Linked DNA regions of Homo sapiens: region 2 is linked to region 1. Evidence: promoter capture Hi-C in 16 types of primary human blood cells and fetal thymus (Javierre and others, 2016). All regions are on one chromosome and are shown on one strand. The core of a region is centred on a gene start or on the middle of the fragment in contact, and the rest is flanking DNA. Distances in the headings are between cores, read along the strand shown. Region 1 holds the start of PLAUR (plasminogen activator, urokinase receptor). Region 2 overlaps CEACAM20 (CEA cell adhesion molecule 20).

Region 1 (4,841 bases), core at 323-2,822:
AACCCCCGCCCCTTGGCCCCTTGAGGTCCTAGCCCAGCCCCGTAGCTCCTCCCCAAGCTTATAACCCCGCCCCTAGCCCCTCCTTGAGGTTCCAGCCCCGCCCTCTAGCTCCTCCCCGAGGTTATAATCCTGCCCCTCAAGAGTCTAGTCCCACCTTCTAGCTCCTCCCGAGGTTATAACTCCGCCCTCTGGTTACGCCTCGAGGTTATAACCCCGCCCTCTGGCTCCGCCTCGAGGTTCTAGCCCCGCTCCTAGCTCTTCCTCGGTCTGTAACCTCTCCCGTAGCTCTTCCTTGAGGTTCCAGCCCCGCCCTCTGGCTCCTCCCCGACACTCTCTCCCCGCCCCAGGCTCCGCCCCGAGATTGCAGCCCAGTCCCTAGGCCCGGTCCCCGACCTCCGGGCCTTCCCGGACATCCCTTTCCAGCTGCGCGTTCGGAGTATCCCGGAGCTGTTACTCATTCCCGGCCTCCCGCGGTCTCGAGCGCTTTCCGGGTTATTCATCGCGGCCCCAACACCCTGTGGCCACCCGCCCTGACTCAGTTCCTTCTCGAATTCCTCGACCCAGAGCCCCCCACATTTTCCGGGGAAGTAAGTGAGAGTCGCCTCAGTGAGAGGGAAAGGTCCTGAGGGACAGTCCCGGGTCTCCAGCACTGGCTCTGCGCCGCTCAGTCAGCCTCCCTTTGGGCCTTTTGTAAAAGGGGGTCCTGTCCCCCCGTTTCTCAGAGGGGGAGACCCAGCAGCGTGGAGAGCGCTGGGGGGCGCTGCAGGGTCAGATCCTGCGTATTCAAGCACTGGCTGTGTGATTTTAGGCCAGTTATCTAACCTCTCTGTGCCCTAGTTTCCTCTGCGAAACGAAATTAATAAAGTCCCATCGCCTAGTTTGAAATTGCAAGGAAGAGGCTTCGAAGAACTCCATTTAAAAAAAGAACACTTGGGCCGGGCGCGGTGGCTCACGCCTGTAATCCCAGCAGTTTGGGAGGCCGAGGCAGGTGGATCATCTGAGGTCAGGAGATTGAGACCATCCTGGCTAACAGAGTGAAACCCGGTCTCCACTAAAAATACAGAAATTAGCCGGGCGCGATGGCAGGCGCCTGTAATCCCAGCTACCCAGGAGGCTGAGGCAGGAGAATCGCTTGAACCCGGGCGGCAGAGGTTGCAGTGAGCCGAGATCGCGCCACTGCACTCCAGCCTGGGCGACAGAGTGAGACTCTGTCAAAAAAAAAAAAAAAAAAAAAAAAGCACTCACTAAATTATGTAAAGCTAAATGCCTTTGCTCCACTAATATTTCCTTAGCTACTGAGTGCCAGGTACTGCGCCGCGTGGCGTTGCACAAAGCACGAGAATTACTATTATTTGATTAGGGAGGATGCTGAGGACTGAACCGCATTCCTCCAACTCATCCTCTGACAACCCCCAACCCCCTCAATTAGACCCTGTTCCAGGCGCAGGCGTTCGGGACCCAGCCCCTACCTGGGACGCAGGTGTGGAGCAGCAGCAGCAGCGGCAGCAGCGGCGGGTGACCCATGTCGCGAGGGCAGCTCCTGTGCGCGGGGTCCCTGCACGTCTTCTCTCCTTCTGGCCTCAGGAAGGAGGCAGTTTTGTGGCCCCAGGGACTCCTCCCAGACGTTTTGCGAAAGAGCGAGTCAGCCCCAGATGCGTGGGCGCCTCCCCCTCCTCCCGTACGAACCTCCTCCGCCACAAACTTCCCTTCCCGGGGCGCGGCCGGCTGGTGGTGAAGGGGCTGGCTCGGCCCTGACTCATGGAGTTGTGATCACAGCTCTGTCCCCAGATTGCCTGGGTGCAAATCCCAGTTCTCTCTCTTCCTAACGTGGGACCCGGGGCAATCGCTCTCCACTGCTGTAAAATGAGGATAAAAACTTTGACGGTAAATATGAATGTGGCTGATTATTTGGCTAACAGGATTTTTGTTAGTTTTGTCAGGAGGGATACTGGTATTTTGGAAAATGTCCTTATCTAGAGATGCATCCTGAAATATGCATCTCTTAAACACTTAAAACACTTAACCCTTGCTTTGCTTCCCGCTGTGCCCCCAGCTCCTGGACCAGTGCCCAGCACGAAGTAGGTCCTTGGTAAATGTTAAAGGAATGTGTTGAGCCCTCCATTTTGGCCAGCAGCTATTCCAGGCATTGCACCTACATTAAAACACTTAATGGTGAAACCCCGTCTCTACTAAAAATACAAAAATTAGCCGGGCGTAGTGGCGTGTGTGTGTTACTTAGGAGGCTGAGGCAGGAGAATCGCTTGAACCCGGGAGGCGGAGGTTGGGTTGCAGTGAGCCGAGATCGTGCCACTGCACTCCAGCCTGGCAACAGAACAAGACTCCTTCTCACAGAAAAAAAAAAAAAAAAAAAAAAAGACACTTCAGCCAAAAAAGTAGATATCACTGTTACGACAATGGCTGTATGCTTAGGTGGGATTCTGGTTTTTGTTTGTTTGTTTGTTTTTGCAGATGCTTACTAGAGTATTTAGTGGTGAATGTTATTGATGTCTGCATTTTTTGTTGTTGTTGTTTTGGGGATTTTTGTTTTGTTTTTTCTTTTTCTTTTGTTTTCATTTTGATGTCTGTATTTATTTTATAATATTTTAGAAGAGGTCAGATGAGGTGGCTCATGCCTGTAACACCAATGCTTTGGGAAGCCAAGGCAGGAGGATCACTTGGGGCCAGGAGTTCAAGATCAGCTTGGGAAACATAAAGAGCCCTCATCTTTCCAAAAGAAATTAAAAATAAAATAAAATTAGCTGGGTGCAGTGGCCCGTACTTGTAGTCCTAGGTAGTTGGGAGGCTAAGGTGGGAGGACCGCTTGAACCTGGGAACTGGAAGCTGCAGTGAGCTATGATTGCACCACTGCACTCCAACCTGGGCAACAGAGCGAGACCCTGTCTCAAAAAAATAATAAATAAATAAATACTTGAGTAGAAAATAAAGGCAAAATAGCCAAATGGTTGTATCAATTATATAAAGGTAATCAGTATATAAGGGCATATTATGCCATTCTGTCTCCTTTTCTGTGGGTTTGAAAAGGCTTATAATAAGTTTTTTCTTTCTTTTTATTATTTATTTATTTATTTATTGAGACGAAGTCTCACTCTGTCACCCAGGCTAGAGTGCAGTGGTGCAATCTCGGCCACTGCAATCTCCGCCTCCTGGGTTCATGCAATTCTCCTGCCTCAGCCTCCTGAGTAACTGGGATTACAGGGGCACGCCAGCACACCCGGCTAATTTTTGTATTTTTAGTAGAGATGGGGTTTCACCATGTTGGTCAGGGTGGTCTCGAACTCCTGACCTCAGGTGATCCACCTGCCTTGTCCTTCCAAAGTGCTGGGATTACAGGCATGAGCCACTGCACCTGGCCAAGTTTTTTTTTTTTTTAAGTAAAATAAAATACTAAAGATAAAATTGTCTCCCCGTCTTAGGATGCATCTAACTAAACAGAGCAATTTAATGTAGGTGCAATGCCTGGAATAGCTGCTGGCCGAAATGGAGGGCTCAACACATTCCTTTAACATCTACCAAGGACCTACTTTGTGCTGGGCACTGGTCCAGGAGCTAGGGGCACAGCAGGACGCAAAGCAAAGTTCCCACCTTTTGTTGTGTTGACAGTGGGGAGCAGATATGTGTTATCTAATCTTTCACTGTCTGAGAGGGATAAGCAAACTGGAGAAAACAAAGCAGGCTGAAGGAAGTATCTGGGTGCAAATGAGGTGTGAGCTGTTTTAGGTGGGTGATCCAGGAGGGGTTCCCTGAGCAAGTGGCATTCAAGCAGAGGCTGAATGCAGTGAGGGAAGAAGTAGGGCAGATGGGCAGGGAACCTTTCCAAGGAGCAGGAACAACCAGTGCAAAGGCCTTGAGGTGGAAGCCTGATGAGATTCTAGGAACAGAAGAGATGTCAGTGTGGCTGGAACAGATTAGGAGAGGAAGAGAGTCGTAGGGGATGAGTAAGTGGTAGCTACTTCTACTGCTGTAATAATGATTATACTATGTGATTTGTTGTCGTTGTTGTTGTTGTTTTTGAGACAGAGTCTCACTTTGTCTCCCAGGCTGGATGCAATGGCGTGGTCTCGGCTCACTGCAACTTCCACCTCCCAGGTTCAAGGGATTCTCATGCATGCCTGGCTATTTTTTTTTTTTTTTTGAGTCGGAGTTTCTTTCTTGTTACCCAGGCTGGAGTGCAATGGCACGGTCTCGGCTCACTGCAACTTCTGCCTCCCAGGTTCAAGAGGTTCTCCTGCCTCAGCCTCCTGAGTAGCTGAGATTACAGGCATTCTCCACCATGCCTGGCGAATTTTTTGCATTTTTAGTAGAGATGGGGTTTCACCATGCTGGCCAGACTGGTCTTGAACTCCTGACTTCAGGTGATCCACCCGCCTCAGCCTCCCAAAATGCTGGGATTACAGGCTTGAACCACTGCGCCCAGCCCTAATTTTTGTATTCTTAGTAGAGATGGGGTTTCGCCATGTCGGCTAGGCTGGTCTCGAACTCCTGACTTCAGATGATCAACCTGCCTCAGCCTCCCAAAGTGCTGGGATTACAGGGGTGAGCCACCGCACCCGGCCCTAATTTTTGTATTGTTAGTAGAGATGGGGTTTCACCATGTCTGCCAGGCTGGTCTCTAACTCCTGACTACAGGTGATCCACCCACCTTGGCCTCCCAAATTGCTGAAATTACAGACATGAGCTACCGCTTCCAGCCTGTACTATGTGATTCTTACTAACTCATTGAAGCTGTAAGCTAATGATTTTAAGATAAGGTTAGAAAACAAAAAACAAAAAAACTCCCAATGGTGAGCACAGTGGTTCATGCCTATAATCTCAGCACTTTG
Region 2 (4,841 bases), core at 1,631-4,130, 830 kb after region 1:
CCCAACACCTAAAAAAAAAAAAAAGAGAGAGACCTGGCACATAATAGATGCTCAATAAATATTCGTTGGCTAAATAAAGGTTCCTGTCTCTGTATTAAACACTTTAATATTTCATTACCAAGCCCAATCAGCCTATGAGGTAGTTGTGTTAATTTTCATCCTACCAGGGAGGTAGCTGAAAATTGGAGCCCTGCTGTATGAAAATACATAATTTTTTAGTTTTTAAAATGCTTGTCAAAGCACTCCTGTAGTTTTCTTCACGTAAATTCTGACCTTTAAAAACAATGAATTATTACTATTTGAAATGTAATCTCTATCCCCAAAGCTTCTTATTATTGGTTATTGTGGTTGATCTTTTAAAAAATACTTATTTTGTATCTGGTTAACCTACTGCAATGTTATTAATTCTTACAATACTCCAGTTGACTCTCTTGGCTTTTCTATTGAGACAGTTATCTACAATTTCATCTTTTCCTTACCAGTATTTTAAATTAGACATTCTCTTTCATGTTGGATTATATTGGCTACCATTTCCAAAAAAGTATTACTAAAAGAGGCATTCTTGTTTGTGTTCTTTTAATGGACATATCTCTGAAGTTTGAGGGTTAAATGTGACATCGGTTTCTACATTGAAGTAAGTAGCTTATTTTTTTAACCTTTTATTTTGTAAATTTCAAAACAAAAGTAGGGACTCAATTAATGACTCCCCAAGACCTATGTCATCCAACTTAAATATTTTCACTCAGTCTTGTTTCATCTGTATTTCCACCTATGTTGTGCATTTGAGACCAAGATGTTGAACTCTAGAGTCCATGCTCTTAACTTTTACATTATGTTGCCGCTTGTCTACACATCAGTATCTTTCCTCTACGTGCAAGCAATACTAAGTTTGCAAACAAAACAGAAAAAGTTCGTATGTATTCACAAAAAAGCAAAAAAAAAAAGCCTTATAAGTAAATTTAGTAAGATAAATATGTCATCTGAAGAAACCCTCAAAACCTTACTGAGAGAGAAAAATGGACAAATAGAAATGCTGTGTTGCTAGCTGTGTGTTGTAAAGATGTAAAATCTTGCAGATTGATCTGCAAATACAAATATGACAAAATCAGAATGGGATGCTTTGAGTGTTAGGTCGTCTTCCTTTTTTCACTTCATTTATTTTTCTGCTAATTGTTTAAGATATTCAGAAAATAGGCCAGGCGCAGTGGCTCACACCTGTAATCCTAGTACTTTGGGAGGCTAAGGCAGGCCAATCATGAGGTCAAGAGTTCAAGACCAGTCTGGCCAACATGGCAAAACTCTGTGTCTACTTAAAAAATACAAAAATTAGACAGGCATGGTGATGCACGCCTGTAATCCCAGCTACTCAGGAGTCTGAGGCAGAAGAATCGCTTGAACCTGGGAGGCAGAGGCTGCAATGAGCCAAGATCACGTTGCTACACTCCATCCTGGGCAACAGAGCAAGACTCCATCTCAAAAAAAAAAAACAATTTTCAGAAAATAAAGCGTTAGTACTATGTAATGTAAAACTGACTTTGTTTATCTGTCTTTTGTTTAGTCTTTTTTATTTTCTTTCACAATGAACAAGGTGGTAATGTTTACTTCCAGGAACCTATAAATCCTGACTTAACCTGAATATTACAGGGACTTTAGAAGAGTTACCACTGCTGGGCGCAGTGGCTCACGCCTGTAATCCCCACACTTTGGGAAGCCGGAGCAGGAGGATCACTTGAGCCCAGGAGTTTGAGACCAGCCTGGGCAACATGGTGAAACCCCGTCTCTACAAAAAATACAAAAATTAGCTGGGCCTGGTGGCACAAGCTGTAGTCCCAGCTACTCAGGAGGCTGAGGCAGGAAGGATTGCCTGAGCCCAGGAAGCAGAGGTTGCAGTGAACCAAGATTATGCTACTACACTCCAGCCTCAGCGACAGAGCCAGACCCTGTCTCAAAATAAATAAATGAATAAATAAAAATTTTAAAGAGTTACCACTCAGGAACATTCTAGAAAGATGCCTATCTAATCTAGAGATTTATCTGTCAACTGTCGGGAAGAGCTGAGACCAAAGTTTATATTAAGATTCTGTTTATTGGCCATGAATTGGATAAGGGCTCAAGATACAGTGAAGAGCAAGAAGATTATGAATCCATTTACTATAAATACTAGAAAACAAAGTAAGAGTAACGAGAGGGTAAAAGGGCATGATCTGTCTCTAGGATGTCAGGGGGAGGGGGACATTTCTTGGCAGGGAAGAGGAAAGTTCTCAGGGTTCAAATAGGGTGGTGTTTCTGGTACTACTGAGTGCAACCCTTAAGATCCTAATTCCGGTCTCTTGTATCACATCTAATGATTAATTTTTAAAATCTGAATTAATGTTATCATCATTATGATAGCCATTCAGCTCCAAGGATAGCAACAACGCATTCTGAAAACTCTTCATTTCCAGGAGTTTTCAGTGTTGGTTTCCCCCTGTGTTAACAGTCCTTTTTTGTCTCCTTTGCTTGATCTCTCCTGTAAACATCAGAGGAACCCAGGAATCAGCTGTCAGCCTGTCCCTTGCCTTGTCTTCATCCACTCTGCTTGGGGTTGACATAACAGGCCTATTGCTCAAACTCTGTAAGTTCCCCAGAAGGTCCTGTTTTCCTGACTAGCCTTTGGGCAGCTCTGGGAACTGAGCTCTCATAATGTTCTATCTGGTAAGAGTGCTTTTGTTTGCCTGAGGCCTTGAGCCATGCTGTACCACTTTGTCCAGATGGTTTATACTAACAGTGTAATTTATGGAGGAACATCTGCTTTCCTTCTAGGAGTCTGGAGCTTCAGTGACTGACCCTTTATAAAAACCATGGACACCCAGGTTTAGGTGAGCTTCCCTCGATGGCAATGCTTCACACACGTTGTCACACATCATTGCTGGGGGATTTCCCATGTGCTGTGGTTTGGATATTTGTCTCCTCCAAAACTCATGTTGAAACTTAATCCCCAGTGTGGCAATATTGAGAGGTGGGGGTTTTTAAGAGGTGATTGGCTCATGAGGGTTTTGCCTTCATGAATGGATTAATCCATTCATGGACTAATGGATTAACGGGTTATCATGGGAGTGGAACTGGTAGCTTCATAAGAAAAGAAAGAGAAACATGAGCTAACATGTTACCACACTCAGTCCCCTTGGCATGTGATTCCCTGCACCACTTCAGGACTCCACAGAGAGTCCCCACCAGCAAGAAGTGCTCTCACCAGATGCAACCCCTAGACCTTAGACTTCTAAGCCTCCATAACTGTAAGAAATAAATTTCCTTTTTAAAACAAATTACCCAGATTTAGATATTCTGTTATAGGCCAAAGAAAGCAGACTAATACACCATGTGACTCCACTGAAAGAGAACACTTGGAAGCTGGTGCAGGGTATCCTCCAGACTTCACCCCATGCACCTTTTCCCTTTGCTAATTTTATTCTCCATCCTTTTGCTGTAATAAACTATAACCATGAGTATAACAATTGGGTCCTATGAATTCCTCTAGAAAATCTTTGAGCATGAGGTGGTCTTGGGGACCCCCCTGACAGAGGAGCTCATCCAGCCCCATAACTTTAAGTCCCACTGACAACTCTCAAATGTGTATCTCCAGCCATGATCTGTCTAGATTTTTATGAACAATTGCCTACTTGATTCTGCAACTGATTCTTGACATGTCTAAATTCTTGACATGAAGCAAATTCTTTATTTCTCTCCTTATCCCAAAGTTTCTCAGAAAGTGACCTGCCAATCATCCAGTTGCCCTGGCAAGAAACCATGGAGATATCCTTGTCTCCTAACTCTCTTTACCTTCAGCAAATCTCATTCTGACTCTCTCCGCCCCTGCAGTTCTCAGGATTCTAAGCATTTCATGCCTACCTCTCCTCAGGAGCCTCAATCCCTCACTTCACTACGTGTTTTCTCCTTTTATTAAGAGCTCTTAATTTCTTAAGAGCTCCTTGTTCCTTATCTTCTATCATGATTTGAAAAGCCACTTCTTCTCTGACACCTGTCTTTGTCCCCTACTCCTCTCTGGCTGACTCAGACTCACTCTTCTCTCTGGAGTCCACCAACAGTGTTTGCTCATCCTCAGCCTGCAACTATGATATCCTAAGCTGTTCAGTCTCAAACCTTGGTCCTCTAACTCTAGATCCACGGGCTGTCATTTTTACCCTTACTATTGCTTTGAAAAAAAATATGAGTCAAAATCTAAGATTCTATGGAAGCCAGGGCCTGACCAACCCATTGCAGTAGAACATCACAAGGTCTACAGAGATGACAGAGAATGACTGGCTTATAATATGCACTTAATAAATGTCATTAAATATATGATCAAGCATGGTTTCTCTAGGACTCCTGGAGAAAAGATCTCTGCTTCCATTAGACGGAGGGGTTGATTTGGATGTAAGTGTTGGGCTCTGGATTCACAAGCTCCTGTTAAACAAAGAGAAAATGTGAGCTCCATTTGCTAGGTGGACCCTCCCAGTCTACTCACTGTAGTCTGGGGCCCAAACAGCCTGGAGCTTTCCTTTCTTTGGAAATTCCAAAAATCTTCCTCCATTCTCATCACACTTTAGTAACCCTGGCACATCTCTGTTCCTGGAATGGCCCATGTACTTCCCCACTGTGGTAAACAGACTCTAAAGTGGTCCCCATAATCCCTGCCTCCTGGTATTCATTCCTTTATGTAATCTCCTCCCCTTGAGGGCAAGACCTGTGACTTGCATCTAACCAATAGAATATGGCAAAGGTGGCAGGATATACATGATTGCATGTATGTGATTCTGTTACATAAGATTATGACTTCTGTCTTGGCTTGAAGAAGCAAGATG

Evidence for each region. Contacts are between HindIII fragments. The CHiCAGO score rates a contact against its expected background, and 5 or more counts as called.
Region 2: a fragment that was not itself captured here is called in contact with the fragment with the promoter of PLAUR in region 1 in 1 of 17 cell types (erythroblasts); the score reaches 5.5 in erythroblasts.

The regions. Positions count from the first base shown.
Region 1 is chr19:43,668,597-43,673,437 of GRCh38, forward strand. It overlaps PLAUR (plasminogen activator, urokinase receptor), which reads right to left and starts at 1,573. Exons shown (of 7, transcript NM_002659.4): 1 at 1,470-1,573. The coding sequence starts at 1,524. It overlaps LOC124904724 (a long non-coding RNA gene), which reads left to right and starts at 168. Exons shown (of 3, transcript XR_007067264.1): 1 at 168-587; 2 at 1,430-1,884. RefSeq lists silencers at 72-301, 342-421 and an enhancer at 1,342-1,641. The HindIII fragment of the contact is 10,236 bases long and covers 56-4,841 here.
Region 2 is chr19:44,501,772-44,506,612 of GRCh38, forward strand. It overlaps CEACAM20 (CEA cell adhesion molecule 20), which reads right to left. Exons shown (of 12, transcript NM_001102597.3): 12 at 4,388-4,443. The coding sequence ends at 4,390. Among named protein-coding and RNA genes, the nearest start is that of ZNF180, 3.7 kb to the left of the region's middle. The HindIII fragment of the contact is 5,114 bases long and covers 324-4,841 here.